Linked DNA regions of Homo sapiens: all the other regions are linked to region 2. Evidence: promoter capture Hi-C in human tissues and cell types (Jung and others, 2019). All regions are on one chromosome and are shown on one strand. The core of a region is centred on a gene start or on the middle of the fragment in contact, and the rest is flanking DNA. Distances in the headings are between cores, read along the strand shown. Region 1 overlaps PRKCE (protein kinase C epsilon). Region 2 holds the start of PRKCE (protein kinase C epsilon). Region 3 overlaps PRKCE (protein kinase C epsilon).

Region 1 (4,518 bases), core at 1,864-4,363, 300 kb after region 2:
ATTGCTTATCAACATGGTTACATTAGCTCACATCCCCACCGGCAGTATGCAAGAGTTGCTTTACATCCTTACTAACCCTTTAATGTCAGATTTTAATTTTTGTCAACTAATAAATACGATGTGGCATCCCACTGTTTTAATTTGTATTGCCCTGATTACCTTTAAAATATTCTTTTAGGACTATTGGCCGATGAATTGTTCATTTATTTTGCTTGTTTTTTTTTTTTTTTTGATTGTTGTTTTTTTTTTTTCCTTGAGGGTAGGAGTTTTTAATATACATTGAACTAAATCTGAGTCTGCTACATGTTGCAAATGTCTTTTCTCGGTATCTTTTTCTTGTCATTATTTATGGTGTCTTCTGTGCAGAAGTCTTACATTTTAATGATCATAGTTGGTGTTTGCTTTTTGCTTTCTGTTTAATAAATCTTCCCCTATCTAAATGACACAAATGCTTTCCTGTTTATTTTTTAAATAAAAGTTTTTATGTTTTGCTTTTTGCACTGGGTCTAACAGTTTTTTCTCCCCCAGTTTGACAACCATGGACCTAGGATCATATTTATCGGTCCATGTTTTCCCTCTTGAACCTCCTGTTTCTCATCTCTGTTCTATCCCTTTGGTCTGTCCCGCTGATACACCATGTTTTAATTGCTTTGACTGTGAAATTTTGATATTTGATAGCGAAGCCTTCATTCTTTGTTGTTTTTTTTTTTAAAGAAAACTCAGTCCAAATATTCTTTATTCTTATCAAATTTTTTGTTGCTTTTTTGGCCATTTTTCTTCTGTGAATTTTAGGATTAGCTTTTCAATTTCTGTGAGAAACCTAGTAGGATTTAAGTTGAAAATGCATTAATTTTTGAATTACTGATGAGAATGGTTATTACATCTATTCAAGTTTTTAATTTCTTTTTAAGTATTATGAAGCAGAACACTTGCCTAAAATGAATGCTTAGAAAATATGTCTCTAATTGGCATCCTGGGAACATAACAAAATAGTTTTCTGCAAAAATGAAATTTTGACCAAAGGCTGAAGCCGTCTTCAGTGAAGTTGTTTTTACCTTTACTGAAAATCAATATATTTACCAAAAATGAATGCTTAGTTTTAACACTAGGAGTAAAAACAGATCACTGCTTTATACACCAGACCATTTATTACCCCATCATGGGACATCAGCCAATCTCTGGTCTTTAGGAGAATGCATTTTATTCCCACTTCTTCTTATGAAAAGCTTTAAATGAAATTTTCTGGCAGAATTTCAGTTACACTGAGTTAATTTATTTCTGCTTCTCACATTCTAATTTTGAGGATGGCAGATAAAGATGTCACAGCACATTTGCATGAGGAACTCTGGCTGGATGAGGAGAAAATAACTTCAAGGTCATTACCAGGGTTTATGCTCGACTGTGCCCCAGTTTCCCCTGGGATTACAAGATGCCTGGTTTGATGATGCCCAGGCCAAGTGTCTAATAAGCCATGGAGTGAAAAAGGTTACTTCAAGCACGCAGAGGGCAAAGCGAGAGATGGATATCAAGGGGCGGGGTGCAGATCCACCCTTGTGTCTGCCAAGTGTCTGTTGTTCACACTTCCGTTGGCTCAAGGTGAGAAGTGCTTGGGGACAGCAACAGCAGCTGGTGGACAAGAGGGAGTACTGGTGTTCCTAGAGGACCAACTTTCCTAGAGGACCTCTCAGAACTGGCTCCTCTAATTAAGTCCTGGAACTATCAGCCTCATTTCTTTGACTTATCTCTGCCCACTTGGTGGCTCCCGATCTGAGATCATGTTCACTTGGCCACCAAGACAAAAGCTCCAAATAGTGTCCTTGTACATCCCCAGTCATGACTGTGAATTGCACTACAATCCTGCCCACAGCTTAATGCTCGGTGCCCAAACCATCACTGTAAAGCCAGTGTTCAAACACTATCGTGTTATCCGGTGCTGCTCTGGCTGCAAAAGATTTCCTGGGGAGTTGATTAAAGTTACAGATTTTCAAGCCTCACCCAGTGGAATTGGGGAGTGGCTCTGGAGTTTATGGCTTCACTAGCTTCCCAGGTGATTCTGGTAAGTAGCCCAGATTGGGAACCACTGCTTTAGACAACTTTAACCTAAGGCTCTAAGGAGGAACCCAGTCCTCTGGGAAACAGCTTCATACAGACTGTCGAGGAAGTCGTGTTTCCAGTCAGTCATGCCAGGTAGGTCCCTCTGTCTTGCAAGTCTTTGGGCTTTCATAATTCCTCCCTAACTCTGACTTCCTCACTGAGACTAGGCAGTATGTATGTGTCCATGGCCCCCACTCCTGAGTCAAGGCTTCTCTGGGCCCAGAAAGACAGCCCTTTTGGCTTGGGGCCACACTTAGATGTTAACCACAAGATACGTGCTCTGCTTCCTCTAGGTTTAAAGGTGCCGCTCTCCCTAGGACCAATGCAGCATCTCACAAAATGAGGGCCCCAGCTGAGCCAATGCAACTCTGTGCTGGAGGCAAATGTAGCAAAGGCTGAGCACTTTTGTACACAACCACATACAATGAGTCTGGTTCTTCCACACCTCATCCTCTGAGTTTGTGCCAAGCTGGATCAAAGCACGAGTGAGTGGTTTAAGACTGTAAAATGTGACAAACTCAGTTGATCCAGACTCTCAGACTCTTTTGTTTTGTTTTGTTTTGTTTTTTGAGACGGAGTCTTGCTCTGTCGCCCAGGCTGGAGCACAGGGGCGCCATCTTGGCTCACTGCAAACTCTGCCTCCTGGGTTCAAGCTATTCTCATGCCTCAGCCTCCTGAGTAGCTGGGATTACAGGCATGTGCCACCACATCCAGCTAACTTTTGCATTTTTAATAGAGACGGAGTTTCATCATGTTGGCCAGGCTGGTCTTCAACTCCTGGCGTCAAGTGATCTACCCGCCTCGGCCTCCCAAAGTGCTGGGATCACAGGCATGAGCCACTGTGCCCAGTTGATTCAGACTCTTAAAAGAGCCTGACTCCTAGAATGTTAGACCTATCACCTAGTCTGATTTTTCCATCACATAGATAAACAACTGAAGCCCAGAGAAGGAAAGGGACTCACCCAACTAGGTGGTGGTCGGCAAAAGAGCCCAGGCCCCAAAGTTATAATGATATACACATTTCATTACACCATGCTGCCCCTGGGCCTCGCAAGCGTACATAAGTCATCACTATGCTGGGCTGTTCTTGTTCTCTCTCTCTCATGGGCTTAACACACAGAAGCACCCTGAATTTTAAACCAATAAAACACCCCTCCTTTTGCTGGAAGTATACATTCTAAAGGAACATGGACTACACGCAGAATTTATTATAAAATACTTCAGGCTCCCTTGTTAACTAATGGTTCAAATTAAAGGAACATAAAGCAACCCCTATTTTACGTTGAAATTGCTATGTTAAAAGTTTAGATTTACCAAACAGTTGAATTAAGATGTAATTATTAGCATTTCCAAAAAATGTAGTCGCTCTTCAAAAGCACTCACCACAGGATTCCCTTATATAGCACTTAATGTACTTAATGTACTGTACATTTAAAATTGGTTTTGATTGATGGGAGGGCCATTGACATGCAGCTTTCCAGGAACACAACTTTTTATAGAAAAAGTAGGAACACTGAATGTGCTTTGTTTAGGCTATTATGTGCCATGTCACATTAAAAGTCTATTAGACAACCAGTGTCTCTTTTCAACGAGCTTATAAATTAACAGCACGAAACACAGCAGCCAAATAAAACTATAGATCACAGTATGAGGATTTGTCTTAAGCGGTAGGCTGAGTTCACCCTGACATCTCATTTTATGGACAGGGAGGTCAAGCCCGTTGCCTTTCTTGACATTACTGAGTAGTGTTTGAGATAATGAAATGCTTAAATAATAGTAATTCTGAAATAACTCTAGATCTGTTTTCAAGTTTTAGCATTTGCCCCGGATTACCTGGGAGGTGAACACAGTTCTGAACCCCCTTCCCCATGGCCAGGTGGTCCAGGCAAATGCATCTGTAATGCCCCAGTACTTTTGATGGAACATACCTAGAGGATCTCAGAACCAGAAGGAACTTGAAAAACATGAACCATCCCATGTAATTTTGTCTTGGGGAAGATGAGGCCAAGGCAAGAGAAATGACCTACCCACGGGTCACATATTTGGTTGTGACATATGTCAGAGCCAAGACGATTCTCCATTACTGGACTCCCTGCCCAGGGCACTTTTCATACGCTTTTCAATTTGGATAGAACATCCTCCTTGCTCTCTCTCTTCCTCCCTTCCCTCTCCCTGAACAGCCAGCTACCGCTCCCTTTCCCCTCCTCTGGAACACCTCTCCTGGAATACCCAACCGTGGGCTGTGCCCTAAACTAAAAAATGACATTGAACCCAAAACACTCATTCAGTGTCACTGCTGAGTCAGAAAGTCACCGGCTTGATCAGTGCGGTTGTCCCTCGATGCCTCTCCTACTTTTTAATTGCGCCCCCATCCACTCTTGCTGTCACTGCTTTAAACACTGGCTGCACATTAGAATCCCCTTG
Region 2 (4,536 bases), core at 10-2,509:
ACAGGAACAGTCACTTTGCAAAAAATAAGCAGACCACAAACCAAGCCGGGGCTCTACCGAGCTTTCACTTGTCAACAAGTTCTCGCAGCCTGCGAAGTCCAGGACAGATCCCAAAGGGGAGAATGTCCCCAAAGAAAGGCAAGAGAGAAGAACAGAGTTTAAAACTTCACCCGAGCCATGCTTGTCCCTCCCCCTTCCCCCTCCCCCACCGCCGTGGATCACAGCGTCCCGGGACAGAGTGACAGATGGGCCAGAACTCCGCAGACTGCTCCTGCCCGCCGCGGCCCGAGTGGGGGTGGGCAAGGGAAGGGTCCCGAGGCCTCTAGGGCAACAGGGCCCCCTCCACTCCCCCATCCCCGGCTCTAAAAGACAGTGTTGGCCGCAGGGTCCCCGAGAGATACGCGGCCCGGCGGGGCCCATCCATGGCCATCCACGGCCCCCGGCACGCGCATCCAGCCCAGCGCCGCCGCACCCCGGGGTCCCGCGCGGGGTCCCCGCCCCCCGGCTGACCCGCCCGCCGCTGCGACCCCGGGCAGCCTCGCCAGCTCTCCACCGTTGTCTCCTCGGCTCACTTTTTCCGTATTGCTCCCCCAACCGGCAAAACTTTCTATTTCCCCAAACACTGCCGTGCGCGCGCGCGCGTGCACACACACACACTCACACACACACACTCACACACACTGACGTCTTTTGCGCATTTCCTGCATTAGAGGGAGGGAGACTCGCTCGCACACCGACAGAGGGAGAGGAGACCGCGGGGGAGCGCGGGCTGGCGGGCGGCGAGCGAGCGGCAGCCGAGAGCGGGGACGCGGGGAGCGCGGAGGGCGGGCGCCGGCGCCCAGGAGGTGGGGCCGCGCTGAGTCGCAGTCCCTGCCCCGCCGCCGCGCTGCGCACCGCCCGGTGCTGGCCTGCGCCCCCGAGCCGGATCGGCGGCCGCCCGGACTCCGAGCCCGCGCGGATGTGAGATTCCGGGCTCCTGGCGCCTCCCGATCGCCGGCTCCGGCGCGGCGCTGCTTCGCCCAGGAGGCGGCGGCCCCGGCTGGCCGTGGGGCTTGTGGATTTTTAAAAATTTGGCTCCGAGGAGGACCATTTCCTCTCGACATGCATCCCTCCGGATAGACTGAACATCCCTCCGTTCACCCCCCCGCCCCGCGCGGTCAGAGGCAGGCGCTGAGTGTGCGAAGAGGATCCGGGTTGAAATCTGCGCCCCCGGTTCTCGTCCCCGCCCCGTCCCACCGCCCCATCCCCCTCCCGGAGTCGAAATTTCCCGGGATTATGTTTCGGAAAGGTAGGTAAGCGCCGGGCGCGGCGCCCGCTTTCCCGCAGTCCGGAGCCGGAGAGCCAGCGAGGCGGCGAGGCAGCCCCCGCGGCTTGCAGCGGAGCCGACAGCTCGTCTTCTCTTCTGGAGGTGCAGCTGGTGGTCGGGGGGAGAGACTTGCTCCAAACACGGACATCCCCCAGCTCTCCCCCCTCCCTGTTTTCCGTTAGGAACCCGGCGAGGAAATACATGCACTGGCTGAGAATCGCCCGCGCCAGGGCGCAACGCCACAAGGTGTAGGGAGTGTGCGGGGTGGGGCGAAAGGGGACCCAAGAGTCCCTGTGGCTCGGAGTGCCGGGCCGTCGGTTCTTCATTCCTGCCCTCGGGGCAGACGGAGTGACCCCGGCCCCCACTCCCCGCCCCGACCATGGTAGTGTTCAATGGCCTTCTTAAGATCAAAATCTGCGAGGCCGTGAGCTTGAAGCCCACAGCCTGGTCGCTGCGCCATGCGGTGGGACCCCGGCCGCAGACTTTCCTTCTCGACCCCTACATTGCCCTCAATGTGGACGACTCGCGCATCGGCCAAACGGCCACCAAGCAGAAGACCAACAGCCCGGCCTGGCACGACGAGTTCGTCACCGATGTGTGCAACGGACGCAAGATCGAGCTGGCTGTCTTTCACGATGCCCCCATAGGCTACGACGACTTCGTGGCCAACTGCACCATCCAGTTTGAGGAGCTGCTGCAGAACGGGAGCCGCCACTTCGAGGACTGGGTGAGTGCGGCGCCTCCCCGTCATTCCGGGAACCCGGTTGTGGGGTCCCGGGGAAAGACTCGCTGGTCTTGATCGTAGGGCTCCGGGACTTATTGACGACTGGGGTGTGTGTGCCTGTAAGTCTCAGTTTCCTTGGGGAGGTACACTTCACTTCATAGTTGGGGAGAAACAGGCATTGGCGAGGAAGATGAGACTTGGAAAGAGGATGTGGCCCTCTGCTCCCTCTGTGCCCTCCAGTTGGTGGGTGCTGCGGGAGGTTTGCAAACTGGGAGAGCCTGGGCCACTGGTGCTGAAGGTTGGCCGAGGACCCGGCTTTCTTCCGCAGGCGCGTGGTGGGCTGGCTGTGTGTGATTGTGTGTGGGTGGGTCCCTCCGTCCTTGGAAAGGCACGTGGAGCCTTTGACTGAAGGCTTCTTGCACGTCCTGGCTTTGTCCTGCTTAGCCGAGCGAGGAGTTGCTTTATTTTTCCCTCCGAGAGGAAGCTGGCTTGTTTCTATTCTCTTGCATGGTGGTTAGCTCATCTTCTGACATACAAGTAGAAAAAATGTGTTCTCCTCCAGGATGTCTCCTCTATGGTCCCAGAAACATCAGTCGAGCTTGTTTTGTCCAATTCATTGCCCATCCATGCAGAATGAATGTTGCATTTTAAGAAGGGTTCTGCTTGTGGGTAATTGGAAGTCAGTGCTTTGAATCTTATTTAAAGTTATATTGTTTCTCTGTTTTGATTGTCAAGATACTGTGCAATAAAAGACGATTTCTAAGTATGAGATTGAGTTGTTAATTGATTCCATTATTAAACTATTAAGGATTTGGAAAGAGGTCTTGTCTCAATCTACTATAAACCAAATGCATCCAGTCTTGGCACTTGGACAAGCAGAGAGAAGCAAACCTTCATTTTGCTTTTTGTGTTTGTTTTTGGGTTGTTTTTTTTTTTTTTTTTTTTTTTTTCTCTCTTCTTGGAAGGAAGGTATTAATTTAGGATGTGGATTTTTGTGTTTTCAGGTTTGTTACATGTTTCCAGCAAGTACAAGCGTTCCTCTGGAGGTATATGTTTTCAGGGTTCTTTGGTCTACACAAAAAGTGAGAGAGCTATCTAAGCCTCAAAAGTGGTGTAGAGCAATTGCTTTCTATTGAAAACCAGCTAACTTCATGAATGTCCTAGAGGTCAGAGGTTGCACATGGATCACTTTGGCATATCACCTTACATATTTTTTTCAAGGACACGGAGTTTTAGGGAAAAATAAGAGAGAGCCTGTTGTTTTTGTGCTCATGGCTGTGATGTAGTCTGCCTGAAACCATGGTTACGGTTTCACAGGGAAGCTCCAACAAGCCACATGCGTAGAACTCTAGATTTGTGGTTTGCACTTTGGAAAGCAGGCAAACCTTTATGGAATCCCAGAGAACTCCATGCCATTCTATTCTACTTCACAGATGTCCCTCATCTCTGCTTCCTTCAGCCCCCACAACAGAGCTCCCACTCATTCCCCATTTCTTTTCCATGCATGGCCTTTGGGCCCTTTCCTCATGAATGCAGTGCATATGAGAGGGGGAGTGGAAGGGATAACTAATTTCAGAGGTAGACCTTGACTCTGAAAACCTGTGATTTTGGAGTTGTTGTTTTTGGACAGGAAGGGGGTGGAAAAAACTTGACGCTGGTAGCTAGGAGATGGGAGCCTTTTGCAGTGTATGCAGATGAGGGGCTTGGACAGTGGGGCAGAGAGCAGGGATGAGGAGCAGCAGGTCTGCATTTATCCATAGAACAGATGTTGGTTGGAGGGAGAGTGTCTTTGTATCTCTGGTGATGCTTCACTGGGGCACACCCCAAACTCTGGGAGCTTCAGGACACTGTCCCCACCTTCATCCCTCCTAGTGAAGCATGCAGTGGGAACTTGTTTGGTTATCATCCTCTAAGGTTCTCAAATTCATGTTGGATTTGGCCCTAGGCCAGATCATCTAGTGCACAGGCAAGTTTTACAGATGAGGACATTGAGTTCCAGAGAAGCTAGTTGGGGACCGAGGGTCACATGACAAGCAAAGGTGGGTTGGAAGTAGGGCCCTCACCGCCTGTTGCCCATGGCTTGTCTGATGGGGAGCCGAGCCTGCCCATCTGGCCTCCCAGCCTATTCTCCCTGCAGATCCATGTGCTGTGTCCCTGACATTTTTATTGTACTTGATAACTTCATCTCTTTTGCCTTATAGCAACTGTGAATTAGGTATGGCAGGTATTGGACAAACTAAAAAACTTGAGATAGAGAAGCCCAAAGTCTGAAGGATGAGTCAAGCAGTGGAGCAGGTTCAGAATGCCCATCTGTTTTCACCAGAGGATGCTGTAGCCACTCTGGTTCCTCCAGGCTGAAGGTGGGGACTCATTGGCAGGGGTGACTGGCCCCTGGAAATGGAGACAAGTTGCAGCTGGGCTAAGTTCACCTTTCCCAGTCTTAACATTCAGGGTAAACCCATGGTTTCATAGCTTTGGGTAGAATTCCCTGGGCTCAGGTCTCTTC
Region 3 (4,263 bases), core at 1,400-3,899, 400 kb after region 2:
AATGAGCCTGCCTGCCACCCCTCCCACCCCCTGCCCCTTCCATAGTAAGGTTTAGTGACTTGCTTATGGGCACTTAGGGGAAAAGGAGAACTAAGTTCTGTTTTCTGTTCTTTCTCTGACTAGCCATAGGACCTTAGGGCAGGTACATGATCTCTTTGAGCCTTATTTTCCTTATCTGTGACATGGAGACAGTACTCCCTCCCAGCTTCATTCTCAGAACTGTCCTGAGGCTTCAGCTACAGCCTATTGAAAAGTCTCAAGGGTATTAACAAAATGGAAATGTCCTATCTTCATGTTCTTTTGTATTCCAGCCCCCATCAATTTCCCATGTCCAGAGATTCTTTACAGCCAACAGGGATCCATATGGGGTTCACTGGGCTCAATGTCCCACCAGAGCCCCTCTGCCAGTGCCTCCTACCGAGCAGATGACTTTCTAAGCAAGGTGCTCGGGTCTTGTCACCGAGGGGTGGACGTGCCCAGTGTCGGGGTCTGTCCAGTGGTCCTTGATTCCCCTTTGTCCACGCACTTGGCCTTTCTCCAGGGGGAGACGGATGATAGCTGGAAGTGATCTACTCTGCTTATGGGTTCTGGCCAGTTCTCTCTCTGTTTAGGGGTGAACCAGTGTCTGACAGGTGAACTTTTCCTTAGGGTAGGAAATACATTGGCCTTTAAATGCAAAAGGACACCAGGTCATTGAGCTCAGAACCTTCACCAGCTCTGGAAATATTGTTCCTCTTGCAGGACTCAACTCAGTGTGACTCTTGCCCTCCTCCTTTCTCCTTCCCAGACAGAATGCACTCTGCACTTTCCTATAGCTCTGTATGGGGCACCAGTCATGTGTTGTAATAGTTGGCCTGGAGTGTAGAGACTCGCCAGTAATGCCTCCATCTGACCTACACAGGAGGAACTCCAAAAAACTTTTATAAGCAATTTAGTTAGGCTCTTCTCTGTAGTCTAGAGTCCCAGGGCCTTCCTTGGAGTCCCGTGATGTCTCTTACCTTCATAGTCAGAATTGAAAGGCAGGAAGGAGATACAAGGTCTGTCTTTCCCCTTCTTGACTGAGCTTGGGGCAAGATTGTCCGGGCCCATTTTTCCTAGACGTTTCCTTAGCGCAACCCTCATCCTATTTGATGGTTTCCAGGGACCTCAGGGTTTCTGCTTAGAAGCTTCCCACCTGTCAGTATTGCCGAGTGGGCTTACAGCCTGATAGAAGCCCCCACCTCACTGGATTAGTGCTGCCCTGGTTTCTTCCCAGTCCTGACAATGCACATAGCCCAGCTCTCTCTCATGCCCACAGATACTTTAAGCTTCTATTGACTTAAAGTGGCCTGAGATAGGGCAACAGGAGATGGGACAACCTATCCCAGTTGGTGCAAAGCCCTTTACACGCACATCTTGCAATTAACTGTGAGCCTAGACTGGAGTCCAGCCCTTGGGCAGCCAAGGTAGTTTCTGCCTGATTGTTCCTAAGCAGACTCTGGTCAAGGGGGAAGCAGCTGCAGGTGTAATACCCGCTGCAGGAAATACCTTCTAGTATCCTTGTAGCTGTGGGAAAATATTCTCACTTGAATTCATGAAGGTCACCAGAGGGGCTTCCCTCTGCTTTCCACTCTGCATTCTCGTAAATCCCACCTCTTCTAGAAAGCCTGCCTCAGTTTCCCATCATGCGTTTCCTTCTGCCCAGTTCCTTGTGTTACACATCAGTTTAGCTCTTTCTGATACACCATTTTGTGTTCTGCAGTTGATTTCATGTAATTTACATTTTCCCATCTTGACTAAGACCCTGAGGCAAACCCGAGGCAGGTCCTTCTGTCCATCAAATCCAACACAGTACTGGTCCTGGTGAGTCCTCTGAGAGGTACCCCCAGCATGGTCACCATGGCCAGTGTAGAAGGCTGGGGGTAAAAGCTGGGCCCACCGACTGATGGGGAAACCTAAAGTTCTTGCAGAATTGGAGGCTTGGCACTCCCTCCACTGGCTCCCATTGCCCGCCCTGCTGCCTGGTCCCCAGGGGTAGGGTGGCTTAGCTGGGCTCATGGCCTGTGATGCACATTCCCAGATCTCTGAAGTCATTTCCCTGAAATCACATTTACCGTTCACAAGAAAAAGGCCAAAGCTGGACAAAGGCACTGCTGCCAAGACTCGAGCACTGGTAATTTCTTATGAGCCCTTTGTGATGGTAGAGTTTATGAAATGTAAGTAAACAGGCTTCCTTCTAATCCCTGAGCCGTGAGAAGCTGTCAGGGTTTATTTGCCGAGCCGTCCCTGCATGCCTGTGCATGGCACACCTAGGCTCCAGTGTTCCGCTCGTTAAAAGGTGTCTAATTTCTGTAATCACCTTGGAGTTTAATGGGTTTAAGCCATGTGGGTTGCAGTGGAGAGAAAACATTATTTCTAGTCTTTTGGCTTCCTTTCCTGCCTTCCACACCTCTTCTCTCTCCTTGTCCCTCCCTTGTGAGCTGAATGGATTATAAAATATTAGCTGTGACCTTGTGGGGTGGGAAGGAAGAAAGGTTTCTGTTTCCCGCTCTGTCCTGCCTTCCCAGCCAGCACTGGCCCCTTAATGAGGTTCTAAAGGTAAAGGTATCTGGGACAATTTCAGGACACTGCCACCTGTGGCCTGCAAAGAGCATGACTTGATGGACCTTTGATTTCTTTTTTCCCCCCCAGCCACGTCCTGGGAATAATTTAGGAGCAAGCCAACACATTTGGAGGCATCTTCTCTCATTTCCTTCATTCTTGTCAAAGTCTCACTCTTTTCTAGAAAAGAAATCATGGTCTTTCTCAGTGCCCACAATGGGCAGAAACATCTCTGAAGCCATCACCTGAGGAGTCTTAAAAGGCCCAGTTCTTTGTGGTCCTCCCTTCCTTTCACTTCACCTCACTGTCATCACTTCCTTTATCTCTCCCACTCCCTCACCCCCAAATGAGAGAGGGAAAGGAAGAAGAAAGACAATATGTGCATCGTGTCAGGTGAGAGGAATTAGCTTCCTCCATGGATTCTGCTTTCATAGTCAAGCCACAAATAACTACTGAGATGACTTCAGTTCCTCCCGCAAGAGTAAGCTGATAACAAATCCTCTTTCCCACTGCAAGTCTCAAAACTCCTTCAACTTTCAGCTCATGTTATTTAATGTTGAAATCTGACCTTCCCAGAGCACCACAAGTGGTAGCCTGGGTAGTGGGCCCCTGGGCTGGTGGTTTCTGGTGGCAAGAAGCTGTCCACATGCCTCAGTGCACCATACACATGCTGTCACCTTCTCTCTGATCTGTGACTGTGAAGGTGGGGAGCTGTGGGTAGGGCAAATGTGATTTTCTCACTTAAACAGATGAGGAAACTGAGGTTCAAAGAAGTTATATGGCACATGGCACAGCTGATCTCCCTGGTGCAAGAGAGTGCCCTTGCCATTCTTCTCCCAAGCTGCTGATTTTAAGGTGGCTCTGCTCTCCTTTGGGGAACCTGGAAGACATTTCCTGAATCTAGCACCCGCTTTGAAGGCATGCTGCATCTCAGTTGTTCATGGGCCATTTCCTATTTTCTTTGGGGCTTTTCCACTTACAGGTATTGTTTTCTCTACTTTATTCCCCCTGCTGTTTTTACCTTAGTGAAATAAAGTGAGAAACAAATCCTCAATGATGCTATATTAGTCTGTTCTCACACCGCTATAAAGAAGTACCTGAGACTGGGTAATTTATAAAGAAAAGAGGTTTAATTGTCTCAAAGTTCCACGCGGCTGGGGACGCTTCAGGAAAGTTACAATCATGGCGGAAGGCACCTCTTCAGAGGGCAGCAGAGAGAGAAGAAGTGCACGAGAGCAGGGAAAACTGCCTTATGAAGCCATCAGATCTCGTGAGAAGTCACTATCACAAGAACAGCATGGGGAAAACCGCCCCCATGATCCAGTCCCCTCCCACCTGGTTCCTCCATCAACACCTGGGGATTACAATTCAAGATGAGATCTGGGTAGGGACACAAAGCCTAACCATATCAGGTGCTTTTCAGTGCATGGGAAGGGAGGAGAAAAGCCATATAATCTAAGATTGTGTCACTGTCAACACAGTCCCTTCTTCCTTCCAGTAGTTGAGTCTACCTAAGATTTGAACCACTTTCAAAAGGTAGTGTGTGCAGAGAACACCATCTGATATGTAGAAAATACTAGTCAATACACATGCAAAAGAAGCTACTAGAACTAATAAAAGAGTAGAGCAAGGCCACAGGAGACAAGATCAATATACAAAATCAATTACAGTTCTTTATACTAG

What was found. The method cuts DNA at HindIII sites, captures the fragments that hold promoters and counts their contacts. A contact is called where the count stands out against the background at its distance.
Region 1: a contact is called between a fragment that was not itself captured here and the fragment with the promoter of PRKCE in region 2, in 2 of the 25 tissues and cell types used here (dorsolateral prefrontal cortex and liver).
Region 3: a contact is called between a fragment that was not itself captured here and the fragment with the promoter of PRKCE in region 2, in 1 of the 25 tissues and cell types used here (bladder).

The regions. Positions count from the first base shown.
Region 1 is chr2:45,949,188-45,953,705 of GRCh38, forward strand. The region is part of intron 2 of PRKCE (protein kinase C epsilon); the gene reads left to right. Among named protein-coding and RNA genes, the nearest start is that of PRKCE-AS1, 280 kb to the left of the region's middle. The HindIII fragment of the contact is 8,884 bases long and covers 1-4,518 here.
Region 2 is chr2:45,650,416-45,654,951 of GRCh38, forward strand. It overlaps PRKCE (protein kinase C epsilon), which reads left to right and starts at 1,260. Exons shown (of 15, transcript NM_005400.3): 1 at 1,260-2,033. The coding sequence starts at 1,686. LOC102724965 (a long non-coding RNA gene) reads right to left here and starts at 800. Exons shown (of 2, transcript XR_005647119.2): 1 at 1-800. RefSeq lists silencers at 420-519, 690-1,159 and enhancers at 535-829, 1,318-1,938. The HindIII fragment of the contact is 9,634 bases long and covers 1-4,536 here.
Region 3 is chr2:46,048,088-46,052,350 of GRCh38, forward strand. All of the region lies in intron 10 of PRKCE (protein kinase C epsilon), which reads left to right. Among named protein-coding and RNA genes, the nearest start is that of EPAS1, 250 kb to the right of the region's middle. The HindIII fragment of the contact is 4,547 bases long and covers 377-4,263 here.